Linked DNA regions of Homo sapiens: all the other regions are linked to region 4. The links are contacts of gene promoters, found by promoter capture Hi-C in human tissues and cell types (Jung and others, 2019). All regions are on one chromosome and are shown on one strand. The core of a region is centred on a gene start or on the middle of the fragment in contact, and the rest is flanking DNA. Distances in the headings are between cores, read along the strand shown.

Evidence for each region. Contacts are between HindIII fragments. The study calls those that stand out against the background at their distance.
Region 1: a contact is called between a fragment that was not itself captured here and the fragment with the promoter of REXO1 in region 4, in 1 of the 25 tissues and cell types used here (lymphoblastoid cells).
Region 2: the fragment with the promoter of RPS15 here is called in contact with the fragment with the promoter of REXO1 in region 4 in 3 of the 25 tissues and cell types used here (aorta, dorsolateral prefrontal cortex and lymphoblastoid cells).
Region 3: the fragment with the promoter of MEX3D here is called in contact with the fragment with the promoter of REXO1 in region 4 in 2 of the 25 tissues and cell types used here (dorsolateral prefrontal cortex and lymphoblastoid cells).
Region 5: the fragment with the promoter of PLK5 here is called in contact with the fragment with the promoter of REXO1 in region 4 in 3 of the 25 tissues and cell types used here (IMR-90 fibroblasts, lymphoblastoid cells and mesendoderm cells).
Region 6: a fragment that was not itself captured here is called in contact with the fragment with the promoter of REXO1 in region 4 in 2 of the 25 tissues and cell types used here (lymphoblastoid cells and spleen).
Region 7: a contact is called between the fragment with the promoter of NDUFS7 here and the fragment with the promoter of REXO1 in region 4, in 1 of the 25 tissues and cell types used here (dorsolateral prefrontal cortex).

Annotation. Positions count from the first base shown.
Region 1 is chr19:1,542,048-1,544,747 of GRCh38, forward strand. No RefSeq gene overlaps it. Among named protein-coding and RNA genes, the nearest start is that of PLK5, 19 kb to the left of the region's middle. The HindIII fragment of the contact is 4,742 bases long and covers 1-2,700 here.
Region 2 is chr19:1,436,946-1,439,645 of GRCh38, forward strand. RPS15 (ribosomal protein S15) reads left to right here and starts at 1,451. Exons shown (of 4, transcript NM_001018.5): 1 at 1,451-1,483; 2 at 1,862-1,947. The coding sequence starts at 1,481. RefSeq lists enhancers at 1,196-2,066, 1,475-1,694. The HindIII fragment of the contact is 20,902 bases long and covers 1-2,700 here.
Region 3 is chr19:1,566,949-1,569,648 of GRCh38, forward strand. MEX3D (mex-3 RNA binding family member D) reads right to left here and starts at 1,377. Exons shown (of 2, transcript NM_203304.4): 1 at 516-1,377. The coding sequence starts at 1,110. RefSeq lists silencers at 1,377-1,566, 1,607-1,656. The HindIII fragment of the contact is 18,806 bases long and covers 1-2,700 here.
Region 4 is chr19:1,847,083-1,849,782 of GRCh38, forward strand. It overlaps REXO1 (RNA exonuclease 1 homolog), which reads right to left and starts at 1,401. Exons shown (of 16, transcript NM_020695.4): 1 at 1,120-1,401. The coding sequence starts at 1,276. RefSeq lists a silencer at 1,129-1,598 and enhancers at 1,619-1,768, 1,789-1,868. The HindIII fragment of the contact is 7,366 bases long and covers 1-2,700 here.
Region 5 is chr19:1,522,627-1,525,326 of GRCh38, forward strand. PLK5 (polo like kinase 5 (inactive)) reads left to right here and starts at 1,451. Exons shown (of 14, transcript NM_001243079.2): 1 at 1,451-1,620; 2 at 2,679-2,700. The HindIII fragment of the contact is 15,366 bases long and covers 1-2,700 here.
Region 6 is chr19:2,276,847-2,279,615 of GRCh38, forward strand. PEAK3 (PEAK family member 3) reads right to left here. Exons shown (of 4, transcript NM_198532.3): 3 at 1,738-2,267. Among named protein-coding and RNA genes, the nearest start is that of PEAK3, 3.9 kb to the right of the region's middle. The HindIII fragment of the contact is 7,382 bases long and covers 1-2,769 here.
Region 7 is chr19:1,382,572-1,385,271 of GRCh38, forward strand. NDUFS7 (NADH:ubiquinone oxidoreductase core subunit S7) reads left to right here and starts at 1,336. Exons shown (of 8, transcript NM_024407.5): 1 at 1,336-1,371. The coding sequence starts at 1,356. It overlaps TRF-GAA1-6 (tRNA-Phe (anticodon GAA) 1-6), which reads right to left and starts at 863; the gene lies at 791-863. It overlaps TRN-GTT2-6 (tRNA-Asn (anticodon GTT) 2-6), which reads left to right and starts at 992; the gene lies at 992-1,065. RefSeq lists silencers at 706-835, 1,016-1,155, 1,406-1,465. The HindIII fragment of the contact is 12,722 bases long and covers 1-2,700 here.

The DNA.
Region 1 (2,700 bases), core at 155-2,654, 310 kb before region 4:
CAAAGCACCCACACCGCCCTCGTGCTAAAGTTTCTGGAATCTTCCTTAGACGGGTGAACTGTGTGCTGCCAGAAATAAAATTAATAGCCTCACTTTTTTGGGTGCTTACAAGGGTTGGAACTTCAAGAAATGGTCATGAATTCACTCCAGCCCTGGCTCAAAGATTTTTTTTTCTTTCTTCCCTTCTTCTTCCTTCTTCTCCCTACTCCCTTCTCTTCCTCTTTCTCCTCCTCCTTCCTTCTCCTTCTTTTTCTTTTTGGAAACCACTGATTTAACCCTGAGAGAGGGAAAACTTGTCCTGGCAAGAATTTCCAAAGCTCAGTTTTATTTTTTAAGACAAAGTCTCGCTCTTGTCACTCAGGCTGGAGTGCAGTGGCGTGCTCTCGGCTCACTGCAGCTTCCGACTCCCTGGTTCAGGAGATTTTTCTCGTGCCTCAGGATCCCAAGTAGCTGGTACTACAGGCGTCATCATGCCCGGATAAATTTTCTACTTTTAGTAGAGACGGGGTTTCACCATGTTGGCCAGGCTGGTCTCGAACTCCCGACCTCAGGGGATCCACCCGCCTCGGCCTCCCAAAGTGCTGGTATTACAGGCGTGAGCCCCAGCGCCCGGCCCCAAAGTTCCGTTTTACCCTTTTTCCCACGCTGAGGCTACAGCTGAACCCAGCCTCCAGACCACCTCCTCATTGGTCTATGGGAGCACGTGACATCATGCGTCCTCCAATCACCAGCAAGCAAGCAAGGCGTGGGCGGGACCAAGGGCGGCTACCTCTGGGGCCAGCAGGATTGGCTGTTGCCCGTGGTAACTGTGTGTGACGTCATAAAGCTTCCTTGCACCTTGGCAAGGCCCCGGGAGCAGGGACCTTTTCTCTCCCACTATACAGATGGGGACACTGAGGCGCTGGTTCTCAATCTATGAAAAAATGGGGTGCTGGTAGGTAGGTCAACCTGGGTCCCACGGGGAGTTTTCAAACTCCTGATGACTCCAGAGAATTACGCTGAGTGAAAAAAGCCTGTCCCGGCCGGGCGCGGTGGCCCACGCCTGTAATCCCCGCACTTAAGGAGGTCGAGGCAGCCGGGTCACAAGGTCAAGAGATCGAGACCAGCCTGGCCAACATGGTGAAACCCCATCTCTACTAAAAATACAAAAATTAGCCGGGCGTGGTGGCGGGCGCCTGTAGTCCCAGCTACTCGGGGAGCTGAGGGAGGAGAATCACTTTCACCACGGAGGCGGAGGTTGCAGTGAGCCTAGATCACGCCACTGCACTCCAGCCTGGGTGACAGAGTGAGACTCCGTCTCGGGAAAAAAAAAAAAAAAAAAAAATTAGCCGGGCATAGTGGGGTGTGCCTGTGGTCCCAGCTACTCAGTTGGCTGAGGTGGGAGGATCACCTGAGCCCAGGAGTTCCAGACCACCCTGGGGAACATAGTGAGACCCCATCTCTATAAAAAATTAGAAAATTAAGGCCAGGCGCGGTGGCTCACGCCTATAATCCCAGCACTTTGGGAGGCCGAGGCGGGCGGATCAGGAGGTCAGGAGATCGAGACCATCCTGGCTAACACGGTGAAACCCTGTCTCTACTAAAAATACAAAAAATTAGCCGGGCGTGGTGGCGGGTGCCTGTCGTCCCAGCTACTCGGGAGGCTGAGGCAGGAGAATGGCGTGAACCCGGGGAGACGGAGCTTGCAGTGAGCCGAGATGGCGCCACCGCACCCCAGCCTGGGCGACAGAGCAAGACTACGTCTCAAAATAAATAAATAAATAAATAAATAAATAAGCCAAGGATGATGATGCACACCTGTAGTCCTAGCTGCTTGGGCGACTGAGGCAGGAGGATGCCTTGAACCCAGGAGTTCATGTAGGTTGCAGTGAGCTGTAGTTGCACCACTGGAGTCCAGCCTGGGCAACAGAGCAAGACCCTGTGTAAAGAACAAAAAAAGTTTATGTAACATTTTAGAAATGGAATTAGGGTTAGGGATGAGGGTGCGGGGAGGGTGCACAAACAGCAAGAGATCCTGATGGTGATGGAAATGCTCCATGTCATGATGGTGGATACACGAATCTACCCAGGCCAGCAAATTATAGGAGACTAAAGACATCTCACACACTCACACACACGATCACAAGTTAAACTGAGGAATCCTGAGTAAGATTGATGGATTGTATCCATGTGAAATCTTACTTATATGTTTTTTAGAGATGGAGTGTCCTTAATGCACCCCAGGCTGGAGTGCAATTTTGTGATCTCAGCTCACTGCAGCCTCTGGGGTTCAAGCGATTCTCCTGCCTCAGCCTCCGGAGTAGCTGGGATTACAGGCGCCCACCACCACGCCCGACTAATTTTTGTATTTTTAGTAGAGATGGGGTTCCACTATGTTGGCCAGGCTGCTGTCGAACTCCTGACCTCGTGATTCACCTGCCTTGGACTCTCAAAGTGCTGTGATTACAGGCGTGAGCCACCACACCCGTTTTTGTTTTGTTTTGTTTTGTTTTGTTTTTGTTTTGAGATGGAGTCTCACTCTGTTGCCCAGGCGAGAGTGCAGTGGTGTGTTCTAGGCTCAGTGCAACCACCGCCTCCCAGGTTCAAACGAGTCTCCTGCCTCAGCCTCCCGAGTAGCTGGGACTACAGGTGCCCGCCACCACGCCCGGCTAATTTTTTGTTGTTGTTGTATTTTTGGTAAAGAGGAGGTTCCCCATGTTG
Region 2 (2,700 bases), core at 201-2,700, 410 kb before region 4:
GCTAAGCTCGGGTTCCCAGAGGTTTTGTGCTTTTTTTTTTTCTTTTTCTTTTTTTTTTTTTTTTTTTTTTTTGAGAAGGAGTCTCTGTCGCCCAGGCTGGAGTGCAGTGGTGCGATCTCAGCTCACTGCAACCTCCGCCTCCCGGGTTCAAGCGGTTCTCCTGCCTCAGCCTCCCAAGGAGCTGGGATTACAGGCACCCACCACCACGCCTGGCTAATTTTTTGTATTTTTAGTAGAGTTAGGGTTGGTCAGCTTGGTCTTGAACTCTTGACCTCAGGTGATCCGCCCGCCTCGGCCTCCCAAAGTGCTGGAATTACAAGCATAAGCCACCACGCCCAGCCAGGTGCCACATCCATAGTTAATAGTCACCTTCAACTTTATACTTAATTCCAGTAAGATACAGAAACATCACTCCTAGGCCAGGCGCGGTGGCTCACGCCTGTAATCCCAGCACTTTGGGAGGCCAAAGCGGGTGGATCACCTGAGGTCAGGAGTTCGAGACCAACATGGCCTGGCCAACATGGAGAAACCGTGTCTTTACTAAAAATACAAAATTAGCCGGGCACGGTAACAGGTGCCTGTAATCCCAGCTACTTGGGAGGCTGAGGCAGGAGAATCGCTTGAACCCAGGAGGCAGAGGTTGCAGTGAGCCGAGATCACACCACTGCACTCCAGCCAGGGCAACAAGAGTGAAACTCTGTCTCAAAAAAAAAAAAAAGTCACTCCTACATAGTTCTAGTTACTCCTTCTCTTTGAGCTATCATTATTCACATTACATTTACATATCTTAACAAACCCAGTGATATTCCTAACTTTATTTTTGAGGCAGGGTCTTGCTCTGTCGCCCAGGCTGGAGTGCCGTTGGCGCGATCACGGCTCACTGCAGCCTTGACCTCCTGGGCTGAAGGCTCAGCCTCCCGAGTAGCTGGGAATTTTTTGTACTTTTTATTCTTTTATGTCCGTGTGTACACAAATTTTTGTATTTTTTTGTAGAGAGGCAGTCTCACTGTGTTGTCCTTACTAACTTTATATACAAAATTTTATCTGTTAAAGCCGGAATGGTTCTTTTCAGCGAGGCCCTGTCCCTGCTCCAGTATCTGTAATGAATTCTCGTGTTCCTCCCACAGTGGGACCTGAACCGCCAAACCGCACCTACGAGCAAACGGTAGGCGCTCCATAAATACTTGTTGATGTGGGTGCCATCGTGTAGATGACGGAGCACGAACCCGAGGCTCAGACAGGGGCGGCGACTTGTCCAAAGTCCCACTCCGTGGAGGAAGCGGCTCTGCAGACCTCAGGCGGCGGCTGCTCTAATCCCTGCAGCCTGTGTTTTGCCCTCCAGACGGCAGAGGGCGCGTGTTCGCCGCCGGGAAAGCGGAAGCGCGTGTGCGCGCACGGCCGAGGGGGCGGGACATGCCGGCAGTCTCGCGATAACTGCGCAGGCGCGGACCAAAGCGATCTCTTCTGAGGATCCGGCAAGATGGTGAGTGTTGCGATTTGGCGCGTCTCTGCCGGGCCTATCCGGCTCCATCCAACCTCTGACCGTCTCGCGGGGGCCGCAGTTCGTCCCCGCGGCTACGGCGGCTTGCTCCCGACCCTGCAGGCGGCTGGATGTTGGGGCGAGGGGCGGACTTGGTGGGTGTCGGGACGACGCGGGGCTGGGAAGGCCTGTCCGGGCCTTCATGTCCGGGTCCTCGTAACCCGGAGCCGCGAGTGATCCCCGGGGACGGGTCGAAGCGGTGTGTCCCTGTCGGGCTTCTGTCCCCGGCGGCGCCGCGCGTCTTCCGCGGTGTCCTCGGGCCCGGTGGCCCCGGGAGATGGGTGTCGGGATCCCGCTGACGCCCGATCCGCGCCCGCACAGGCAGAAGTAGAGCAGAAGAAGAAGCGGACCTTCCGCAAGTTCACCTACCGCGGCGTGGACCTCGACCAGCTGCTGGACATGTCCTAGTAAGGGCGGCCGCGGGGGTCGCGGGCAGGGGCTGGGCCAGCGGTGGGGCTTGTCCGGGTGAGGGCGGCGGGGCGGGGGTCCAAGCGCCTCTGCGGCGGTGGGCGGGCACGGTCTCCGCGCGGGTTTGGAACTGAGTGTGGTCTTGCGCCCAGAAAACTGTCCAGAGACGTTGAGGTTTTTGCTTATTTGCAACCTGCCCCCCGTTGTTCACTTTTCCGCGGCTTAGTTGGAAGGTGTAGCCCCTGTCTGTAGCCCACGTGACTTAGAATAAGGGGCTGCGTTAGACTCCTTAGATTTTAAGGGCGGTGGAGGTCGCTGGGTCCTTTCCAGGCAGGGTGGTGGTGGGCATCTGGCTTGCGCTTTTATTTTTTAATTTTTGATTATTTTGAGGCGGAGTCTCATCCTGTCGCCCAGGCTGGAGTGCAATGGCTCCGTCCCAGCTCACTGCAGCCTCCCACTCCCGGGTTCAAGCGATTCTCTTGCCTCAGCCTCTCGAGTAGCTGGGATTAGAGGGCCCCCCCACCACGTCCGGCTAATTTTTGTATTTTTAGTAGAGACGAGTTTCAGTGTTGCCCAGGCTGGTCTCAAACTCCTGACCTCAGGTGATCCACCTGCCTCGGCCTCCCAAAGTGCTGGGATTACAGGCGTGAACACCGCGCCCGACCTTGATTTTTGATTATTTGTGGAAACAGCGTTTCTCTGTGTCGTCCAGGTTGGTCTTGAACTCCTGGGCTCAAGCGACCCTCCCGCCT
Region 3 (2,700 bases), core at 127-2,626, 280 kb before region 4:
CCCGGTCCCGTCCCCACCCCAGTCAGGGCCCCAGGCTGGAGACTGAGACGTGCGCTCTTTGTACTGTCAGCCTTCTCTCCCGGTCCTGCAGGCGGCCCCCCTAAGCCACCCCTAAACCTGCGCTTGCCCCGCCCCGCCGCCTGTGCTGGGTGTGGGGCGCCCCCCGCCCGGCCGGAGCCCCGGGCCCTCGAGCCCCTCTCTGGGGTGCCCCTGCGGGCGGCCGAGGGCCTGGGCTGCGGCGCGGCTCCCCGGAGCCTTTCCGGGCTGGAGGCGGCCCAGACAAAGGCGGCGGCGGGGCCGGAGCGCGCAGGGGAGGAGCGCGGGCTGCGCCCAACTTTCTCCCGCGGCGGCTGCAGGACAAAGGCGCAAAGGCAGCGGCCGAGGCCGGAGCCCACGCGGGGCGTGTCCGGTGCGGGGCGTCCGGCGCGGGCTGGGCTGGGCTCGGGCGACCCCCTTCCCCGGGGCGGACGGTGCGGGGACCCCCAGGACAGCAACCCCCGACGAGGGCCACTCACCCTGGCGACCCACGATCTCGGCGACGTGCTCGGAGCTGGGCACCGGGACGCACTCGGTCATGTTGACGCTTTTCTTGCGGCTGCCGATCACGCTCATCTGGTCGGCCAGCAGCGTCGGGGGCCCCAGGGCCGCGGGGTGGGGCGCGAAGCCCGCGAACACGTCGGGGGGCGACGGCCGGGGCGGCGGCGGCGGCGGGGGACTCGCGTTGGGGTCCAGCAGCGGCAGCGACCCGGGGGCCACGGCGGGGGCCAGGGTCGGGGGCGCGCCGGCCTCAGGTCCGTCGGGGGGCACAGGCTCCGGAGCCGCCCCGCCGTCCGCGCCCCCCGCCGCCGCTGCGCCGTCCCCGGCCGCCCCCTCCTCGTCCGTGTCGCCAGCGCCCCCCAGCCCGAGCGCCGACAGCTGGTCCAGCGCCAGGCGGAGCGCGGCGGCCGCGTCGTCGGGTTCGGGCGGCGGCCGGGGCGCGGGCGCGGCCTCCTGGGCGCCCTCGGGCGGGGGCGCAGGTCCGGGTCCGGGGTCCTCCCCCGCCGCCCCCACGCCGCCGCCGCCGCCGCCCCCGCCCCCGCCGCCGTCGGGCTGGCCGAGCGAGCTGGGCATGGCGGGAGCTAGCGCTGGGGCCCGCGCTCCTGCCGCCCGCGCCGCCGCCGCCGCCCGCGCCGCCCTCCGCCTCTGCGAGCTGGGCCGCCGGCCGCCTGCATCCAGCGGCGGGGGCGGGCACGGGGGGCCGGGCGGGCGGGGCGGCGGCGGCGCGGGGCTGCTCGGGGCCGGGCCGGGCCGGGCCGGGCGGCGGCAGCGACTCTGGCTGCGGCTCGGCGGCGGCGGCGACGGCGGCGGCGGCTCCTCGGCGGCCGAGGCGGCGGCGGCGGCGCGGGACGCTCCTTCCCTCCCGCCGCCTCCCGCGGCCCCGCCCCGGCCCCGCCCCCGCGACGTCACGCCGCGGCCCAACAATGGGCGGCCCCCAGGGCGCAGGCGCGCGGGGCGGGGCCGGGGCGGGGCCGGCGCCGGGCACGTGGTCCAGGCCCCGCCTCCGCCCGGCGCTCGGGCGGGAACCCGGGCGCATCCGCACGTGCGGGCGCTGCTGCAGGTGTGTGCGGCTCAGCCCCTGCCTGGACAGCGCTCCCTCCCCAAGCCTGAGAGTCCCTGCCTCGCGCGCCCCAGGGCCCGAGGTCCCGCTCCCCAATTTCCCCTAGAGATCCGGGTCGCCCCCAAGCGAGGTCTCTTGCTCCACGCCCGCTTCCTTGTGCCAGGGACCCCCACCTCCCTGCATAAAGGCGTGGGGTCCTCTCCAAGTCCCCCTCGCGATCCCACTGGACTTCGAAGTCAGGCTCCTGCCCGCCCACCGCCTCTGTGCCAGGGTCCAACCCCCGCCCCACGGTGCACCCCCCAGGGCCTGGGGTCCCAGTCCCCAAGTACCCCTTGCTATCAGGTGGGCTTTAGGGTCAGGCCCCTGCCCCACCCCCAGCCTCTGTGCCAGGGACAGCTCCACAATCATGCACACCCCAGGGCCTGAGGTCCCTCTCCCCTAGTCTCTCCTAGCTCCCCTCTGGCTGGCTCCCGGCTTTGGGATCAGGCCACCTCCTCCACGCCACCTCCTCCGCCCCACCCAAGGCCACAGACCCGGTCTCTGTGCCCCCAGCCAGAGACCTCTCTACCACAGTGGTGCTTCCATGGCGAGGGCAGGCTCACACCAGCCAGAACCCTCCATGTGGAGCCCCACCCTCTTCTGGGGTGCCTTTCCCCGCAACGGGCGTTGTCCACCTCTAAAGCCACCCTTGCCGGGCGCGGTGGCTCATGCCTGTCATCCCAGCAGTTTGGGAGGCCGAGGCGGGTGGATCACGAGGTCAGGAGTTAGAGACCAGCCTGGCCAACATGGTGAAACCCCCGACTCTACTAAAAATACAAAAATTAGCCAGGCGTGGTGGCGCGCACCTGTAATCCCAGCTACTCAGGAAGCTGAGGCAGGATAATTGCTTGAACCCTGGAGGTGGTGGTTGCAGTGAGTCGAGATTGCACCACTGCACTCCAGCCTGGTTGACAGAGCAAGACTCCTCTCAAAAAAAAAAAAAAAAAAAAAAAATAGCCGCTTTCCCAGCGGCTCTTCCTCCAGCTGTCCTTCGGGGCCTTCCTTGCACCTGTGGGGTTTTTTGTGATAAACCTGTCTGGCTGGGTCTACCTGCCCCCCTCTTC
Region 4 (2,700 bases), core at 151-2,650:
CGTACGCAGCTCTGAATCCCCCGCCTCAAACACAGCGAAGACGCTGGGCTGTGGGGAGCTGACAAGTGATTGCTTGCATCTGTCCACCTGCAAACAACCGCCCACAGGTGCAGGTGTCCCAAGCACACTTATCAGGGAAATCAGAAAAAAATGCTACCTTTTCTGGCAAAACAGGAAAATAAACCTATTCTTAAATCCTAGAGAAGATGTTTCTCTTTTGCAGGAAAAGGTTCTGAGCTGAGACTGTTTCATGGTTAAAGTAAAAACAGTGCTTGAAACTCACGCCCAATGAGGAAATCTGGGACGAAGGAAGTCAGGGGCTGGGTGAAGCAGAGAGCCACTATCAAGGGACAGAGGTAACAGGGGAGTCTGAATGACATCACACTCGATAACCCTCCCTCCACGACTTTCCTTGCGATGTCCCTCTTTTTCTCCAATCCAAATCCCACATCTCCTCCAAGAAACGCTGCCATGACGATGAAAACCACCATGACGCTGTGAGGTGGAGTCCACCAACGTCCTCTGCCCGACCAAAAGCATGGAATTCCTCGGAGCCCACTCGAGTAAGCTTTGACTTCCTCCCTGCCAGTCATGCTGGACACAGGGCTCGACAAACACAAGAGACGATCCTCGGACCATCCTAACTCAACGACTGGAGACTGAGGTGGCCGCTGCCAGAGGCGCGGCCGGAGGAAACGTCATGGAAATAAACAAGGGCGGCCACAAGCACATGGGGTCCGGGAAGCGGCGGGCGCCAATCAGGGGCAGGAGGAGTCCAGGACCTGCCTAGCGCCGGCCGCGCCCGTCTCCCGAGCCCCCTTGTGTCAGGCCCGGTGCCCGGTACTCAACATGCGCTCGCACTCCGCCCTCTAGACAGCCCTGGCAGGACGCGTCCTCCTAGTTGACATTTCACACTCGTGAAGACGAAGGCTTAGGGACATCTAGTGCTTTGCACCGGGTCCCAGGGTGGGTGGTTCCGGTCCCGACTGGGAAAACCGTCGCCCGCGAACGTGTGGGGAGGAGGCTGGGCCGAGAACGGGGACCCCGGGCGGGACCGGGGTGGGGTCCAGACCCGGGCAGGGGAGCCGAGCCCAAGGCAAGCAGGCGGGCGGGCATTACCTGCTGCGGGGGGCGCCTCTCCGCCGTCACCGGGCGCGCCGGAGCCCCGGGCCCCGCGGTGCCGGAAGTGGCAGTAGGGCCGCCGGCAGGGCCCCCCGGGCGCCCCAGACCAATAGGGGCAGTCAATGGCCCGGAAGAAGCCAGTGGAGCGTAGCATGGTCCGTCCCGCGGCGGGGCCCCGGCCCGGAGCCGCCCGGGCCCCAGGGCCCCCTCACTGGCGCCGCGGTCGCCGCCGCCCGCGCCTCACGGACCCCGCCGCCGCCATCTTGCTCCGAGGCCCCCGGAGGCCCTCGGGACGCCGCCGCAAGGGACCCCGGGAGGGGCTGCCCGCAGCGCGCCTGCTCAGAAACGCCTGCTCCTGCGCGACCAAGGCTGGTGACGGACCCCTGGGCCGGGACAGACGGCCGCGGGAGGAAGTAAGGAGGGCAGGGGCTGCCCTGCCTGCGGTCTCCGGGAGCCTCGCCAGCGCCGCCGCCCGACCTTCGGCGGCTGTAGCGGCGCCATCTTGAGCCCCAGGCCCCTGCGGCGCCAGGGCTGTCCACGGCGCGCCTGACCAAAAAAGCCCCGCGGGGCCCGCTATTACTCATTTGCATATTATTTCCTTTCGTTAGCATATCACCTTAAGGCGCCCTCTGCTGGACGAGGAGAGTTCTGCGGGGAGGTGGCCTTAAACCTGGGCCAGGTGAAACTCATGGTTGAATTACTCCGTTCACAGTCTTTAAAAATCCCCTCGCCCTGGTATACAGCTGGCTCTCAAGAAACGCCTTAATCTCCCCAACCTCGACTCTTGTCATCAGTCTAATGACCAGGTCCACGTTCACTCATTTGTTCAACAAATATTGAGCGCCTACTGTATACCAGCTAGAGGGTGCATTTTAACAGACAAACGAGGAACAAGGCTGGGATGGGGCAACTCTGTAGTCTGGTGGAGTAGGCCCACGTCTTAATGGGAAGTTTAACCTGGTGCATTTTGGTGGGATTGTAAAATAGTGCCACTGCTATGTAAAACAAAAAACCCAAAAAGTTTGTTTTTAAGAGACAGGGTCTTGCTCTGTCACCCAGGCTGGAGAGCAGTGGTGCGATCACGGCTCACTGCAGCCTCGACTTCCCTGGCTCAGGTGATTCTCCCACCTCAGCCTCCCGAGTAGCTAAAACCACAGGTGTGCACCATCATGCCTGGCTAATTTTTTGTATTTTGTGTAGAGATGGAAAAAGTTAAACAGAATTACCCTATGAGCAACTCTATTCCTGGGTATACACCCAAAAAGAATAGAAAGCAAAGTCTTAGGTCGGGCACAGTGGCTCATGTCTGTAATCCCAACACTCTGGGAGGCTGAGGCGGGTGGATCACTTGAGCCCAGGATTTCAAGACCAGCTTGGCCAATATGGCAAAACCCTGTCCTACTAAAAATACAAAAATTAGCTGGGCGCGATGGCTCACGCCTGTAATCCCAGCTCTTTGGGAGGCCGAGGAGGGAAGATCAACCGAGGTCAGGAGTTTGAGACCAGCCTGGCCAAGATGGCGAAACCCCACCTCTATTAAAAATACAAAAATTAGCTGGGCGTGGTGGCGGGCGCCTG
Region 5 (2,700 bases), core at 201-2,700, 320 kb before region 4:
AACAAACAAACAAAAAAAAAAGCAAGGAACTGGCTTTCTGCCCCTGGAGGATTCCAGGGTGACAGTCGTGTGACAGCTCAGACACTCGGGCCCCGAGCAGCCCACCTTGCAGCCACCTCACCTGATTCTCATCAGCAGGGGACTTGGGCTCCCCAGCTGCAACCCGGTGGCCCCAGGCTGGCCAGGAATCTTCCGCCCTGGCCCTGGGACCAGAAACCCCGCAAAGGTGCCCGAGCTCAGCCCCGTCCAATGCACGGGGGCCCCATTCGTGACACCAGGTGGACACGTGACGGCTCAGAAGGTGTTTCCTGTCCCTAGTGGTGTGGCCGGGCCAGATTCCGAAATCTGGTCCCTGGAAAATTCCAGCCCCACGGAGCCTGGTAACCCCTCCCCATTCCTGGTGTTATGTAACATTTGGGGATTAATACCGCAGGCGTCCAGGGGCGGCTGCCGGGATTCAAACCCAGCGCTGCCCTTTCCTGGGCTGACTGAGCGACTTTGCGTCCCTGGGTCTCAATGTCTTGCCTGTACAATGGGGACAAGGCCCGTTTTTGTGTCCCAGGCTGGGTGGAAGGGTGAGGGAAGACCTCACCAGGAAAGGGGTGCACCTGAGTCTGGGGCAGGGCTTGGAGCAACCACCCCCACGATTCCGGGGGAGTCTCAAGCCCCCCACTGTCTTCCCACCCAGCTGTTCTCTGAGTTCTCTGAGGTTTCTGATGCTCTCTGAGGTCGCCATTTCAAGGACGTCCCCACCTGGCTGTCCGTGCAAACCCCAGCCAGGGTCCACCTGCTGCTCCACACAGCCCATCCCTTCTCCGGGCTGAAGCTCCCTCATATGGGACATCCACTACACTGTAGGACCCCAGCCCATGCGTCCCCAAGCCCCGGTCCTGCCTCCTGGGTCCCTGTCCCAGGCCTCACCGCCCTCCCCACCAGCCCCAGCATCACAAACGCTGGGCTTCTCTGCCGCTCCGAATTCTGCTGTGGCTCCCCAGTGCCCAGGGCCATCAAGCCCCAGGTTTTCATGTGGGCCCCAGGGACCCGCCAGCAGGGAGGACCCGAAATGGCACACATTCAGAACGTCGAGGCTCATACCTCAAGCGCACTGTGGGGGAGAAGCCCCCGGAAGCCCCCAACCCCCCACGCGCGAGAGAGCCTCAGTTTCCCGCTCGGTAAAGCGGGCGTATCAGCGGTTCCCAGCCAGCCCGGGTGTGCAGGGTCGGAGGAGCTCGCGGGCTGAGCGCGGCCCCTGGCGCCCGGTTGGCGTGCGGGACTCGGGCGCGCTCTGGTCCGTGGAACTTCCCCAGCCGCGGCGTCCCCGCCGCTCACGCGCCCCCCACTCCACGGCCGGGCACCTCCCGCCCCTCCCCGGGCTGGACCTGCGCCCGGGCTCCGCCCCCTCCCCGCCCCCGCGGCCAATAAAACGCTCCCCGGCGGCTCCTGCGCCCTCAGAGCGGCCCCGGAGCGGCCGCAGCGCGGTGGTCTCGGCCCGGCTGCGCCAGAGTCCGCGCGATGGAGCCCCGGCCGCGGCGGCGGCGCAGGAGTCGCCCCCTGGTCGCCGCCTTCCTGCGAGACCCGGGCTCGGGCCGCGTGTACAGGCGCGGGAAGCTGATCGGCAAGGTGGGAGGCCCGCGCCCCGAGTCCGCGACGGGGCCGGACCGGGCTGGGCTGGGGTCCCGGGGCGCGCGGGCGATCCTGCGCGGTCTACGCGGCGCGTCCCTGCGAGCGCGGGGTCTGGAGCGGGCGCGCGTCCGGAGCCGCGGGGCCTCCCGTGCGGGGTTTCGCATGGCGGGAACCGTGTTGAGCGCGCTGTGCGTCGTGTCCGTGGGTTGCGTGTCCGGGGTGTGGGCGTGCGGCTCGGCCTCGGGATGCGACGCTGTGTTGCCCCTGGGTGTGTGTGCGAGCCTGGCGAGGGTCTGAGTGTGCCGCGTCTGTGCCCGCTGCTTCCAAGTGTCTGGGTGCTGTGCGGTGTTCGTGTGTGTGTGTGTGTGTGTGTGTGTGTGTGTCTGGGTGTTGTGTTGCTTGTTCACCTGTTGTTTGTGCGTCATGCCTTTGTGTGTCCAGTCATTGTGTTGTGTGTCTGGGTGTTGTGTGTTCATGTGGTGTGCTTGTGTGTTTGTGTGTTCATATGTGGTGTGTCTAGGAGTTGTGTGTTCATGTGTTTGTATCTGTGTCTTTGTCCATGTGTTGTACTGTGTGTCCAGGTGTTGTGTGTTCATGTGTTTGTGTGTTCCTGTGCTGTGTCTGGGTATTGTGTTGTGTGTCCACACGTGGTGACTGTGTGTCCAGACATTGTATATTCATGTGTTTGTGTGTTGCTGCGTTGTGTATCTGGGTGTTGTGTTGTGTGTCCATGCATGGTGACTCTGTGTCTGGGCGTTGCGTGTTTGTGTGTCGTATTCAGGCGTGGTGTTGTGCATCCGGTGCTGTCTTCTGGTCCGTGGCCTCTATGCACCAGGCGTGGATGTGTCTGTGTCTGTGTCTCTGTGCCTTCTTGTGTGCATCATGTCTTGTGTGTCCAGGCGGGAGGGTGGGAGCTGTGTGTTGTTTTTTCCCCGGTGTGTGTGTGGAGAGACCTGGACGCGCCTGCGTCCCTGGCTGCCCTGTGCCTCTGTACGCGCTGCCAGCTTGCACACCCGTGCACACCTGCCCACTGATCTGCTGACCCCTCCCCACAGGGCGCCTTCAGCCGCTGCTACA
Region 6 (2,769 bases), core at 169-2,668, 430 kb after region 4:
CTACTAAAAAATGCAAAACTAGCTGGGCGTGGTGGCGCGCCTGTCATCCCAGCTACTTCGGAGGCTGAGGTGAGAGAATCGCTTGAGCCCGGGAGGTGGAGGTTGCAGTGAGCCGAGAACGCGCCACTGCACTCCAGCCTGGGCAACAGAGTGAGACTCTGTCTCAAAAACAAAAAACAAAACAAAAAACACAAAAGCAGATCCCCGGCCAGAGAGGTGTGGGAGGGGTTTTGACAAGAGCTCCAAGGCCATACCCATGGCCCCATACTTTAGAAACATGGTTTCCTGGGTTAACTGCGTTGATTCACGTGTTAGTTGCAAAATAAACAAGTCTAATATGGTCTGGATCTGTGTCCCCACCAAATCTCATTCCCCAGTGTTGGAGGTGGGGTCTGGTGGGAGGCGACTTGGATCTTGGGGGTGGTTTATCATGAATGGCTCAGCACCATCTCCCTTGGCACTGTCGTTGGGATAACGAGTGAGTTCTCGTGAGATCTGGCTGTGTAAAGGTGAGTAGCACCTCCTCCCTCCCTTCCTCCTGCTCCCACCGTGTGAGATGCCTGCTCCCGCCTCGCCTTCCACTATGATTGGAAGCTTCCTGAGGCCTCCCCAGAAGCAGAAGCCACCAGAACCATGAGCCAATTAAGGCCCTTTTCTCTATAAATTACCCAGTCTCCAGTATTCCTTTTTCTTTTCTTTTCTTTTTTCTTCTCTTTTGTTTTTCTTTTTTGAGACAGAGTCTCACTCTGTCGCCCAGGCTGGAGTGCAATAGCCCAATTTTCGAATCTCAGCTCACTGCAACCTCCGCCTCCCAGGTTCAAGTGATTCTCCTGCCTTAGCCTCCAAGTAGCTGGGACTTCAGGTGCGCACCACCGCGCCCGGCTAATTTTTGTATTTTTAGTAGAGATGGGGGTTTCACTATGTTGGCCAGGCTGGTCTCGAACTCCTGACCTCATGATCTGCCCGCCTTGGCCTTCCAAAGTGCTGAGATTACAGGCGTCAGCCACTGTGCTGCCCAGCCTTTTTTTTTTTTTTTAGACGGAGTCTCGCTCTGTCGCCCAGGCTGGAGCGCAGTGGTGCGTTCTCGGCTCACCGCAAGCTCTGCCCCCTGGGTTCATGCCATTCTCCTGCTTCAGCCTCCCAAATAGCTGGGACTACAGGTGCCCACCACCACGCCCGGCTAATTTTTTGTCTTTTTAGTAGAAACAGGGTTTCACCGTGTTAGCCAGGATGGTCTGTATCTCCTGACCTCGTGATCTGCCCGCCTCGGCCTCCCAAAGTGCTGGGATTACAGGTGTGAGCCACTGTGCCCGGCCTTTTTCTTTTTTTTTTTTTTGAGACGGAGTCTCACTCTGTTGCCCAGGCTGGAGTGCAATGGCCCAATCTTGGCTTACTGCAACCTCTGCCTCCCGGGTTCAAGCAATTCTCCTGCCTCAGTCTCCCAAGTAGCTGGGTTTACAGGCGCCCGCCACCACACCTAATTTTTGTATTTTTAGTAGAGGCTGGGTTTCACCATGTTGGCCAGGCTGGTCTTGAACTCCTGACCTCAGCTGATCCGCCCGCCTTGGCCTCCCAAAGTGCTGGGATGACAGGCGTGAGCCACCGCGCCCGGCTCCAGTATTTCTTTACAGCAGTGTGAGAACTGACTCACAGAAAGGCCAAATGAAACAAGCCCTGGGTTATGTCTAAGATGGGGCACTGGGGACACCTCAGAGAGGGTGGGGCTGTGGGGCTCACCTTGGCGACCAGGATGTGCCAGGCGTCCTCGTGCGCGCGCACCACGCGGTAATACAGGGCGTCCCCGCTCTCTGCGCAGGGTGAGCTGTCTAGGAGGCGGAAGCTGTGGCCGGGGTGGCAGGGCCCGGGGTGGCCCCCCATGAGCCGGGCACGGAGCCGGGCATAGATGGTACGGAGGCCCTGCAGCTGCCGCGCAGCCAGTGCAGTGTGCACAGCCTCCGGGCTGTGCAGATCGCGGAGGGAGAGGCCCAGTGGGGCGTCAGCCGGGCCAAAGGTCAGCTCTGCAGGGAGACAGGCTGGTCCCACTGCAGCCTGGCTCTTGTCCACACTGTGGGACCCCAGAAAGGGTCTCCGAGGCGGCTGTACTTGGATGGAGCTGGGATGGAGGGTCCTGCGGGTGGGCAGTGACTGGGTCCGGGTTAGGATCTTCTTGGGCAGGGGTGGGGGCAGGGGCTCTGGGTTGGTGGAGAGGGACCCAGGGGTCCGGAGGCGGCAGGCCTTGGAGGGCAGCAGGTGGGCACGGATCTGACCTGCAGGGAGAGACAGTGGGGGAGGGTTGAGGACAGGCGGAGTGGGAACGGGACACGTGACTCCACCTCTCAGCCTCGGTTTCCCCATCTCTAACATGGAAGTAATGAGGCTGGGCGCCGGTGGCTCATGCTTGTAATCCCAGCACTTAGGAAGGTGGAAGCCGAGGCAGGAGGATCACTGGAACCTAGGGTTTGAGACCAGCCTGGGCAACATAGTGAGACCCTGTCTCTGCAAAAATTTTTTAAAAATTTGCCGGACGCGGCCATGCACAATGGCTCATGCCTGTAATTCCAGCACTTTGGGAGGCCGAGATGGGTGGATCACGAGGTCAGGAGATCGAGACCATCCTGGCTAACACGGTGAAACCCCGTCTTTACTAAAAATACAAAAAATTAGCCGGGCTTGGTGGTGGGCGCCTGTGGTCCCAGCTACTCGGGAGGCTGAGGCAGGAAAATTGTGTGAACTTGAGAAGTGGAGCTTGCAGTGAACCGAGATTGTGCC
Region 7 (2,700 bases), core at 86-2,585, 460 kb before region 4:
ATGGCACGAATTCAGTAAACACTTGTTGTGGTCCTCAAGGGGCCCCCAGTCTTGCTAGTCACCTGTGTTCACCTAATTTGAGCCTCTGTTTTCTTTACTTTTTCTTTTTCTTTTTTCTTTTTTTTTTTTTTTTGAGATGGAGTCTCACTCTGTCGCCCAGGCTGGAGTGCGGTGGCACGATCTCAGCTCATTGCAACCTCCGCTTCCCGGATTCAAGTGATTCTCTTGCCTCAGCCTCCCGAGTAGCTGGGATTTAGATACAGGGTTTCACCATATTGGCCAGGTTGGTTTTGAACTCCTGACCTCAGGTGATTTGCCTGCCTCAGCCTCCCAAAGTGCTGGGATTACAGGCGTGAACCACCGCACCGGCCTTTGCCTCTGTTTTTGTAATCATAAAACAGGCAGACAAAACCTCCAGTGGAATTGTGAAAATTAAATGATATGCATGCAGAAAGCGTTCTGCAAACTCTGTTTTGCTAGTTTGGGTGTTTAGTGTTAGTTTTTATATCATTAGTACTGGTTGTAAACTTATCAATTTAAGCAAGATGGAAAATCGAGGGTGTGTCAGGGAAGGGGGAAGTTTGAGCTGAAATTATGACCTCTTAGGGGTGGGAAGAGGAGGCTTTGGGGTTGTGAGGTCTGAGCCCCCTTACTTTGGGATGAGTCCACATCGCGGCGACTCCTCTGCAGAATGCGGTGATGTTGCGGTAAGGGGTCCGGGATAGCTGCGAGGCAGCTGGACCAATCCTGAACGAAAGACATCAGTGATCGCAAGAGGCGCTAAAACTTCTGCCGAAACCCGGGATCGAACCAGGGACCTTTAGATCTTCAGTCTAACGCTCTCCCAACTGAGCTATTTCGGCTGGGCGGCAGAGTCGCTCTCGCCGGGACTCCGTCCCGCGCTGCGCCTTCCCTGCGCAGGCGCAGTCGTTTCGCGTCAGCAGGCCCCACATCCTTTGTAAGGTCTCCCAGGGCGCCGGAGCGCAGTGTCGTCTCTGTGGCGCAATCGGTTAGCGCGTTCGGCTGTTAACCGAAAGGTTGGTGGTTCGAGCCCACCCAGGGACGCGTGGTGACTTTTGCCCTCCTGGAATAACAAGAAAATGAGTGTCGCCTCTGTTTTTGTCGGTCCGCCGCAGACCCGCGGCCCCCACGTGCGCACTCCGATGACCTTTCCGCCTCGGGTGATCTGGGGGTGCACGGCGCAACACGACCACGGAGGCCGAAAGCGCAGCGGAACCTCCCGGCTCCAGGTTCCGGTTTCCGCATGCGCTCCGAGCCGCTTTGGGCGGCGGCCCCGGGAACCCGGAGCGCTAAGGAGAACGGACCTCAGAGGTTGTCTGAAGGCCGAGGCCAAGATGGCGGTGCTGTCAGGTGAGCGCGGCACCGGCGGCGGGTGTGGGGCCGCGCGGGTCTGGGGCCGTGGGAGCCTCGGGTGTCGTGGTGGCGTCGGGGGTCGGTGCCGGCGTCGTGGCCGCGGTCCTCTCCGGGCTTCTCCGAGCCGGCCGCTCCTCGGGCTCCCCGCCCGGCTTGCGATGAACGGTCGCCGTTATTGCGTCCAGAGTACAGTCGGGGAAACCGAGGCCCGGTAGGTCATGACGCAAGCCTCCAGCCTCAGGAAGGCGCTCGGGGTGGAGGCTGGAGGGGCCCCATTCACGTCCCCGAGACCAGGGCACGGCCCGCGAGGCTGCTCTTGAGATGCCCTGGAGAGAGCGGGGCCTGCCTGACAGGCTGGGAAACTGAGGCCCATTGAGGGTCTTCGAGGTCACAGGGCCGGGCCTGGGAAGGAACAGGACCCAGGACATCCACGCCACCCTGCTGGACCCTCCACCTCCCTCCCCACCCCTGGGAGGTAAGGGCCTCTCGCAGAGCCTGTCCTGCTCCAGGGACTTTTTTGGGATCAGCTGAAGCCTGCGGACCTCTGCTCAGATAAAGTTATTAAATGCATGGAATAAAATCCATAGAATTGCAAGGAAATCAGTTACACGGAGAGGCAGTTATTAAAAGATTGTCTTGAAACCTGATTGGCGACTTAGTAATCTAAGTGCTTCCCTTATGAACGCGATCTAGCGGCAGGTCTAATTGCGACTGTGATTTGGAAGGAGTGAGGAGTGGAAATGAGGCTTTGATGATACGGAAACGTCTGCAGCCCCTGCACCATAGCTAGGAAACATCTGTGATTCCGCTTGGTGAAAAGTTACAGGTCCTGCTAATACTGCCGTATTTTGTTGTCTATGCTAAGAATTTTTTATTTATTTATTAAGACAGGGTCTGCCTCTGTCGCTCAGACTGGAGTGCAGTGGTGCCATCTTGGCTCATCACTGCAACCTGTGCCTCCCAGGCTCAAGCGATTCTGGCACTTCAGTGTCCTGTGTAGCTGGGACCACAGGTGTGCGCCACCATGCCTGGCTAGTTTTTGTATTTTTAGTAGAGATGGGGGTCTTGCCCTGTTGCCCAGGCTGGTCTCGAACTTCTGAGTTCAAGCAATCCTCCCACCTGAGCCTCCCAAAGTGCTGGGAGCCACGGCACCCAGCCTACGCTAAGAATTGAATGAAGGGCTAATTTTCCATAAGATGCTGGTGACAACAAAGACATATATATTTTTTTATTCCAAGCAAATTCACAGTTCTGAATCCTCACCAGGCCCCTTGTTAAGAATGCCTGGCCCACGCGCGGTGGCTCACGCCTGTAATCCCAGCACTT